Regions from separate parts of the Homo sapiens genome. Here regions 1 and 3 are each linked to region 2. Evidence: promoter capture Hi-C in 16 types of primary human blood cells and fetal thymus (Javierre and others, 2016). All regions are on one chromosome and are shown on one strand. Each heading gives the region's core, a stretch centred on a gene start or on the middle of the fragment in contact. The rest is flanking DNA. Distances are from core to core; before and after follow the strand shown. Region 1 overlaps ADI1 (acireductone dioxygenase 1). Region 2 holds the start of TMEM18 (transmembrane protein 18). Region 3 holds the start of RNASEH1 (ribonuclease H1).

Region 1 (2,896 bases), core at 1-2,500, 2.8 Mb before region 2:
ATATTTTCTTTCTTTTTTCTTTTAATGTCTGTATGAGGCCATTCTTGCTTTGCTATAAATAAATACCTGAAACTGTGTAATTTATAAGAAAAGAGATTTAATTGGCCCACAGTTCTGCAGGCTCTACAGGAAGCATGTGCTTCCTGTCACCACCATCTGCTTCTGGGGAGGCCTCAGGAAGCTTACATGGCAGAAGGCAAAGAGGGAGCAGGCTTCTCACATAACAGGAGTGGGAATGAAAGAGAGAGCAAGGTGCCACACTGTTTTAAATGACCAGATCTCACAAGAAGTTACTCACTGTAGTGAGGATAGCACCAAGAAGATAGTGCTAAGCTATTCATGAGAAATCCACCCTCATGATCCAGTCACCTCCCACCAGGTCCCACTTTCAATACTGGGGATTACATTTCAATATGAAATTTGGGTGGAGACACAAATCTAAACTGTATTATTCTGCCCCGGCCCCTCCCAAATCTCATGCCCTTCTTGAATTTCAAAATACAATAATCTCTTCCCAATAGTCCCCCAAAGTCTTAACTTCCTCTAGCATTAACTTAAAAGTCCCAAGTTCAAGTCCAAAGTCTCATCTGATACTCATCTCCTTTTACCTATGAGCCTGCAAAATCAAAACAAGTTAGTTACTCCCAAGATACAAAGCGGGTAAAGGCATTAGGTAAATATTCTCATTCCAAAAGGGGGAAATTGGTCAAAAGAAAGGAGCTACAGGACCCATGAAAGTTCAAAACTCAGCAGGGCAGCCACTAAATCTTAAAGCTCCAAAATAATACCCTTTGACTCCATGTCCCACATCTAGGGCACACTGGTGCAAGGAATGGGCTCCCAAGGCCTTAGGCAGCTCTGTCCCTGTGGCTTTGCAGGGGCTCCTGAGGTTGCTCTCATGGGATGGCTTTGAGTGCCTATAGCTTTTGCAGGTGCAGGGTGCAAGCTGCCAGTGAATCTATCATTCTTGGGTCTGCAGGATGGTGGTTCTCTTCCCACAGCTCCTAGGCAGTGCCCCAGTGGGGACTTTGTGAGGGGGCTTCAATCCCACATTTCCCCTCTGCACTGTCATAGTAGAGGTTCTCCATGAGGGTTTCTACCCTGCAACAGACTTCTGCCTAGACACCCAGGCTTTTCCATACATTCTCTGAAATCTAGGTGGAGAATCCCAAGCCTCAACCCTTGCACTCTGTGCACTCACAGGCTTAATAACACATGGAAGCCACAAAGGCTCATGGCTTGCACCCTCTGGAGCTGTGGCCCAAGCTGTACCTGGGCCCTTTTGATCTGAGGCCAGAACCCTAGCAGAACCCGAGCAGCTGGGATGCAGGGAGCAGTGTCCTGAGGCTCTGTAGGGCAGAGGGGCTCTGGGCCTGACCCATGAAACCATTCTCTCCTTTTAGACCTCTGGCTCTGTGATGGGAGGGGCTGCTGAAAGGTCTCTGAAATGCCTCTGAGGTTTTTTCCCCATTGCCTTGGCTGTGTTTGAAGTTATGCTGATTTCTCTAGGAAGAGGTCTCTGAAATGCCTTTGAGGTTTTTTCCCCATTGTCTTGGCTGTCAGCCCTTGGCTTCTTTGTAGTTATGTGAATTTCTCTAGGAAGTCGTTGCTCTACAAGCCTGCTTGAAATCCTCTCTCAAAAACTTTTTCTTTCTTTGCCATGTGGCCAAGTTGCAAATTTTCCAAACTTTTCTGCTCTGCTTCCCTTTTAAATATAAGTTCCAACTTCAGGTCATTCCTTTGCCCTTGCATCTGCGCATAGGCTGTTAGAAACAGGCAGGAAACATCTTGAACACTTTGGTGCTTAGAAATTTCTTCTACCATATACCCTAGGCATCACTCTCAAGTTCAAACTTCCGCAGATCCCTAGGGCATGTACAGAATGCAGCCAAGTTCTTTGCTGAGGCAAACGTGTGATGTTTGTTCCAGTTCCCGATAAATTCCTCATTTCCATCTGAGACCTCATTAGCCTGGACTTTATTGTCTGTATGACTATCAGCATTTTGGTCACAATGAGTTAACCAGTCTCTAAAAAGTTCCAAACTTTCCCTCATCTTCCTGTCTCCTTCTGAGCCTTCTACACACTTCTAGTCTCTGCGTGTTACTCAATTCCAAAGCTGCTTCCATATTTTCAGGTATCTTTATAGCAATGCCCCACTCCTTGGTACCATTTTTTCTGTATTAGGTTGTTCTTGCATTGCTATAAAGAAATATCTGAGACTGTGTAATTTATAAGAAAATTTATAATCTGCAGGCTCTACAGGAAGCATGTGCTTCCTGTCACCACCATCTGCTTCTGGGGAGGCCTCAGGAAGCTTACAGTCATGGCAGAAGGCAAAGAGGGAGCAGGCATCTTACATAACAGGAGTGGGAATGAAAGAGAGAGCAAGGTGCCACACTGTTTTAAATGACCAGATCTCACAAGAAGTTACTGTGTAATTTAGAAGTAAATTATAAGAAAAAGGTTTAATTGCATCTCAGTTCTTCAGGCTGTACAGGAAACATCTGCTTCCTGGCACCACCATCTGCTTCTAGAGAGGCCTCAGGAAGCTTACAGTCATGGCAGAAGGCAAAGTGGGAGCAGGCATCTCACATAACAGGAATGGGAACAAGAGAGAGAATGAAGTGCCACCCAGTTTTAAATAGCCAGATCTTGTGAGAAGTCACTCACTGTGGTGAAGACAGCACCAAGGGAGTGGCGCTGAACCATTCATGAGAAATCCATTCCCGTGATCCAGTCACCTCCCACCAGGCCCCATCTCCAACACTGAGAATTACGATTTAACATGAGATTTGGTTGGGGACATATTGCCAAACTATATCAATGTTTTAGTTTGGATTTCATATCAGAGTAATTCTGATCTCATAAAATGAGCTGGAAAGTAGTCCCTCCTGT
Region 2 (2,881 bases), core at 1-2,500:
AGGAGTTCAAAACTAGCCTGGCCAACATGGTGAAACCCCGTCTCTACTAAAAATACAAAAAAAATTAGCCAGGTGAGGTGGCGAACACCTGTAATCCCAGCTACTCGGGAGGCTGAGGCAGGAGAATAGCTTGAACCCAGGAGGCGGAGGTTGCAGTGAGCCGAGGTCCCACCATTGTGCTCCAGCCTGGGCGACAGAGCGAGACATCGTCTTAAAAAAAAAAAAAAAAAACCAGGAAAGCCAAGCCCGAGATTTCCCAAACTCAGCAACAACAGTCGTGATGTTTTGAGAGGAAGGTTGAGAAACACAAAAGAGAGGAAGATGCACTATCTACCTAACGGGATGTTCCTGGAGTTGAATACAGGAAGAATAGAGAAAAATATCAATGAAAGAAATGTTTTCCCATAAGAAGAAACCATGACCTTCTACACTGAAATGAGAGAATGCATGTTAAGTAGCATAAGCAGAAATGACCACACTGTGGAAAGATTTTAAGAAAGATCTGGGAGGGGTTAAAGCTATTAAAAAAAAAAAAAAGTCCACCACTAGAACTATTTTTAGAAACATTAAACTAGTTCAAGAGCTAACATATGCAATTAAAGTATATACACTTAATAATTCATGATGTTAAAATAACAGAATGTTTAATTTGAAAATGTCAAAGTTGGGGTATAGATGTTAAAATAAAGGGAAAAAATTCGCTGGAAGAAAATTAACTTTATATTTTTGTATCTGTCGTTGAACAACGAAGTGAAGCGTAAGAACATCTGGTAAATCTCCAAAGTGAAGACAGATAACCCTAAGCTGACCCAGACTAAGAGTGCACTGCCCTTAGGGTCGCGAGAGCAGACACCTTCCCAAGTCCTGCAGGGTCCGAGGAGTGGGCAATGTCCCCGGCTCCTGCAGGGTCTCGGGGCGGACACCGTCCTCATTGATGCTCTGACCCTTCTAGGGAGTCCCAGGTGGGACAGGGCTGGCGTGGCGGTACAGCGCCCTGAGCCTTTGAAACAAACCTCCTAAATTCCACCCGCCTCCGCCTGCTCCTCTGTTAACGAACTAAAGACGCCCTCGGCCTCCTGGCGGAGCGAGCACAAGTCCCACAGCAGCGTAGTAAGTTTTCCGTATTACAGCGACCACCAGGAAATATCGCGATATCTGGACCTAGCAATGCCATGAAATTACCGCGAGAGGAAGCAAGCGCAAGTTTCGTGAGAAGGGCAGATCTCACGAGAGAGGATTTGGCGCCCTCCTCTGTGGATTCTGGCCAGGCCGGGTTCGGCGGTTGCTGTGAGAGCGGGCTTCCCAACACCATGCCGTCCGCCTTCTCTGTCAGCTCTTTCCCCGTCAGCATCCCAGCCGTGCTCACGGTAACTCGCGGCCCGCGTAACCACCAGTTCGGGGGAGGACGGCGGAGAGGCGTAGGGTAGGCCCCACAGAGCACCCGGCCTGTGGCCAAGAAGGCCCCGGCCGTGGGCGGGGCCTTGTGGCGGAGCGCGCGCGCTGGGCAGGGTCCTGAGACCTGTGGGAGTGGCTCGGGGCCGGCGTCGGGGGCGCGCGCTGTGGGCGGGGTCCTGGGCCCTGTGGGAGGGGGCCGGGGCCGGGCGTCGGGGCGCGAGCGCTAGGCGGGGTCCTGGGCCGTTGGGCGGGGAGGGGCGGGGCCGGGCGGGGCCTTGTGGAGGAGCGTGCGCAGTGAGCTGGCTCCGGCGCTCTGTGGCCCGGGCTTGGGCTGGGCTGGCGTCCTGCACCGTGCGGGCGTGGCTGAGTTGTGTGGGCGGAGCGCGAGGGGTAGGGCTTTGTTCGTGTGGGAGGTGCACGCCGGCCAGTCCAGCGTCTTGCGGGCGGGGCTTGGGCCATGTGGGCGGATTCTGGCAGTGCGGCGGGGCGTGCGTGGTGGAGCCTGATCGTGTGGGGTGGCACGGAGGAACGCTGCCCAGTGTGGGCGGGGCGTGCGCCGTGCCGGGTTCGTCTGACAGATCCCAGGGGAGCCCACGCCCCACGTGGCCGCCAAGGGGTGACATGGGCACTCGATGGGGTCTGGGCAGAAAGCCGTGCTCCCCTCACCTCCGTGCCTCTGGTCTTCTGGTGGGTGCATTGATGGGAGTAGATGCGCTTGTGTCCTTATGTCATGGCGCGGCTCTGGAGAAGCCGCTGCGGTCCCCAGCAGAGAGTAGTGACACAGGAGTTCTGGAGGGCTGTGCCGGGCTGCAGCTTGGAGGGCAGGGCGGGGCTGCAGCTTGGAGGGCAGGGCGGGGCTGCAGCTTGGAGGGCAGGGCTTGTCTTCTGCAGGAGGGCGCTCAAGGAGGGGATGGGGAGGGTTGAGGACTGCTGGGATTGGCATCTGAGCATCAGGTGGGGACTGAGCAGCAGTGGATCTGAGCCTGGCTACTTCAGGTCCCTGAGCCAGACACTGTCCCCAGGTACAGCAGGGTCCCGGGGAGTCCAGGAGGCGGCGGAGTGCGGCACTGTCTGGAGAGTTCAGTGTATTGCAGAGAGGTTGGAGAAAATCAAGTCTTGCACGTGGCGATGGCTCAAGATTCCCTGAGGTCTTCAGTGCTGACTAAGGAGTCTGAAATGATGATTCATGTTTTACCTTTGGGGCTGAGCCAAGTGCATCTCTTTGAGCAATCGTCTTAATTTCCTTGTCGTCACCAATTATCATAACCAATTATCATCGTAAAGGATGGTAATTCCTTTAATTATACCCACCTTAAAAACATGATTCTGTTCCACAAACGAAAGGAGCACATCAGAGATGCCTTCAGTTCTGTGTGCTTGAACTTTGAATTCCATGAATTATAGTTGCACTGAGGGGAGAATCCTGTTTCCATCCTCCTGGTTCCTTCTCCCTTTCCTGTCCCCATGTTTCTCTGAGGCCTGGCAA
Region 3 (2,932 bases), core at 134-2,633, 2.9 Mb before region 2:
CGTCGCTTTTGCCTGGGCCGTTCCTTCTTCCTAGAATGTCCTGCTTCTTTCTCTTTGTCTAACTCATGTGAATGAACTTTTTAAAAAATTAGTATCCTTCAAAACTGTATTTGCTCAGGCGTTCTGATGTGAGGCCCTCCTGACTCTCCAGGTGCGGGTGCTTCTCTGCTCTGTGTCTCTCACCTCCAACAGCTTGTTCTGCCTGCGCACTATTTGCTGATGTGTTATCTCCGGGGATTCTCGAATTTCTCACCTTCATCCCCAAGGCCTGACAAAATACATGGCAGGTGTGCAAAAGGCTTGTTAGAAGACCTTAAGAAAATTAAAGAAAAGTGGTTTAAAAATAATTCGAATAACAATGTTTGCCAATGGAGACTTTTTTTTTTTTTTTGAGACGGAATCACGCTCTGTCGCCCAGATGCAACCTCCACCTCTCGAGTTCGAGCGCCTCTCCTGCTTCAGCCTCCTGAGTAGCTGGGATTACAGGCGCAGGCGACCACGCCCGGCTAATTTTTGTATTTTTAGTAGAGACAGGGTTTCATCATATTGGCCAGGATGGTCTCGATCTCCTGACCTGGTGATCCACCCGCCTTGGCCTCCCAAAGTGCTGAGATTACAGGCGTAAGCCACCACGCCCCTCCAACCCATGAACACTTTTAAAATTACTTGATTTGCTTACAGAGCAAAAGGTCAAATGGGGAGAATTCTAAAAGTTACCTTCTCAACTCAGTTTTCTCCCGGGTCGTGGTGCTTGAGGCACTGGATATCCCCTGGTTAAACACCCACGTGCAGTGGAGCAGGGAGGGGACGCGCCCCTTCGGGGGTGGGCGCCCAAGGCAAGGGGAGGAATGCGGCTTCCACGGCCTCCCCTCTCGCCCTCCTTTGTGCTTATTCTAATTCATGAATTCTAACATCTTTCTGCCCACTAAAAAATGTGCATTCATTCATCTGGCCACAGCCCTTACTGTAGATCCGCATCCCTGGAGCTCTCGAGGAGCCGCGGTTACCGCACGTGGGTGCCGGGCGCCAGGGGGTTCAAGGGCTTCCCGCGGTGACCCGAGCACGCCGGGGCGTGGCCCCCGAACTGCGGCCTGGGGGCGGGGAGAGAAGGGGCCCAACATGGTCCATCTCGACCTTCCTCTGCCGGGCCCAGGGCTTCAGCCCCGCTCCCATAGGCCCCGCCCCATCCCAGACCTCGCCCGCCTTCGGGATCTCAGCCCTGGCTCCGCTTCTTCAAGTACCGACAGGAAGTTGACGAGTTCGGGCTCGTCAGGGGCCGAGCTCCGGGCTCCGCCCTACGACACCGCCCCTCCCTAGGCCCCGGCCCTCATCAGGACTCCGCCCAGACGTGCGTCATCTTCCCGCGCCGGTGACGGAAGTGCGGTGTTGAGCGCCGGCGGCTCGCGCCCACGCTGGGCCGGGAGTCGAAATGCTTCCCGGTGCCGGGAGTGAGCGATGAGCTGGCTTCTGTTCCTGGCCCACAGAGTCGCCTTGGCCGCCTTGCCCTGCCGCCGCGGCTCTCGCGGGTTCGGGATGTTCTATGCCGTGAGGAGGGGCCGCAAGACCGGGGTCTTTCTGACCTGGTGAGTGGCCCGCCCGCCGAGGCGCCTCCCTGCCGGCATCGGGGTCGAGGGAGGCCGGAGCCCGGCTAACCCCGGCGGCGGGAGCCTGGCGGTCCGAGTCTGTGCCGCGCGCTGTGGCTGTGGGTGGTCGGGGGACCGCCTCGTTTTCCTGCTCGGCCGGCGGGGTTCCAGGAGGCTCATGGCCTGGGACTGGAACGCACCGAAGACTTGTTTGAAATATCAGAAACGTCGCGTAAAGGTTAGGGGTGGCCTAATAAACCCTGTGTTTAATCCTCCATCTTTGTTGCAGTTAAAGTGCAACAAAAAGTGACACGTAATCAGAACGAACCCCCGTTACCAGAAGACTTTCCGTACCAGCTAAATTGGGATTGGAACTCAGTACCTAATCTTCCCTTTTAAAAAAGGCAAATTCTAATAAGCCAGTATTTGCAGTTGGATCCTTGTAACAACCCTTGGAGGTGAGAGGGATTATTCTCACTTTCAGGTATAGTTCTTGGGGTCAGGAAGTTCCCAGGGCATGTAACTGACAGAGAAAGGACTTGAGCCCAGCTGTTCTGACTGTACCACCAGAACTCTTCCCACTACAAGATACCAAAGTTCGTTACCTGTGTTTCCCCATGCACGGCAGCTACAGTATTGAGGAAGAAGCATCTCAGAAGTTGACCTTTTTGTTGTAAAGAAATGGTTAATATTTTTTTCAAAGACCGCAGTATTTTGTTATGCTTTGAGTTTGACGAAAGCCTTATGGTGCTGGTGTGCTGGCTGGCTGGCATACAGTAGAACACAGGTGTAGAGTCTGACGTGCAGGATAAAACTATAAGGTGCGACTCTGCCCTTTTCACGCAAAAATTGGTCCTCTATATCCAGTTTGCATCCTCAGTTTCAGCTAACCATAGATCAAAAATATTTGGAAAAAATTAAAATAGAATACAGTTTTAAAATACGCATAAAAAGACAATACAACTATATAGATTGTATTAGGTATTATAAACTAGAGATGATTTAAAGCATGCAAGAAGATGTGTGTGGGTTATTTGCAAATACACCATTTTATGCAAAGGACTTAAGCATCCTCTGATGTTGGTATCTGTGATGGGGTGGAGGACTTCCTGGAATCAGTCTCCCTCAGATACCAAGGGACAACTGTATTTCCAACCTTAAGAATCTCAATAAAAAAGGGGATAAGTTAGAGAAGGAAGAAGGAAATAACATTGCACATCTTTTCCAGGAATGAGTGCAGAGCACAGGTGGACCGGTTTCCTGCTGCCAGATTTAAGAAGTTTGCCACAGAGGATGAGGCCTGGGCCTTTGTCAGGAAATCTGCAAGCCCGGAAGTTTCAGAAGGTAGT

What was found. The method cuts DNA at HindIII sites, captures the fragments that hold promoters and counts their contacts. A CHiCAGO score of 5 or more calls a contact.
Region 1: a fragment that was not itself captured here is called in contact with the fragment with the promoter of TMEM18 in region 2 in 1 of 17 cell types (monocytes); the score reaches 5.6 in monocytes.
Region 3: the fragment with the promoter of RNASEH1 here is called in contact with the fragment with the promoter of TMEM18 in region 2 in 1 of 17 cell types (monocytes); the score reaches 8.9 in monocytes.

Annotation. Positions count from the first base shown.
Region 1 is chr2:3,510,900-3,513,795 of GRCh38, reverse strand. The region is part of intron 2 of ADI1 (acireductone dioxygenase 1); the gene reads left to right. Among named protein-coding and RNA genes, the nearest start is that of ADI1, 7.2 kb to the left of the region's middle. The HindIII fragment of the contact is 2,134 bases long and covers 184-2,317 here.
Region 2 is chr2:675,775-678,655 of GRCh38, reverse strand. It overlaps TMEM18 (transmembrane protein 18), which reads left to right and starts at 1,250. Exons shown (of 5, transcript NM_152834.4): 1 at 1,250-1,367. The coding sequence starts at 1,311. It overlaps TMEM18-DT (TMEM18 divergent transcript), which reads right to left and starts at 1,284. Exons shown (of 3, transcript NR_183417.1): 1 at 1,183-1,284. RefSeq lists enhancers at 1,108-1,177, 1,208-1,307, 1,210-1,975 and a silencer at 1,468-1,717. The HindIII fragment of the contact is 12,744 bases long and covers 1-2,881 here.
Region 3 is chr2:3,556,784-3,559,715 of GRCh38, reverse strand. RNASEH1 (ribonuclease H1) reads left to right here and starts at 1,383. Exons shown (of 8, transcript NM_002936.6): 1 at 1,383-1,583; 2 at 2,812-2,927. The coding sequence starts at 1,456. RNASEH1-DT (RNASEH1 divergent transcript) reads right to left here and starts at 1,330. Exons shown (of 3, transcript NR_038429.1): 1 at 718-1,330; 2 at 1-268. RefSeq lists silencers at 932-1,251, 1,622-1,721 and an enhancer at 1,282-1,531. The HindIII fragment of the contact is 22,605 bases long and covers 1-2,932 here.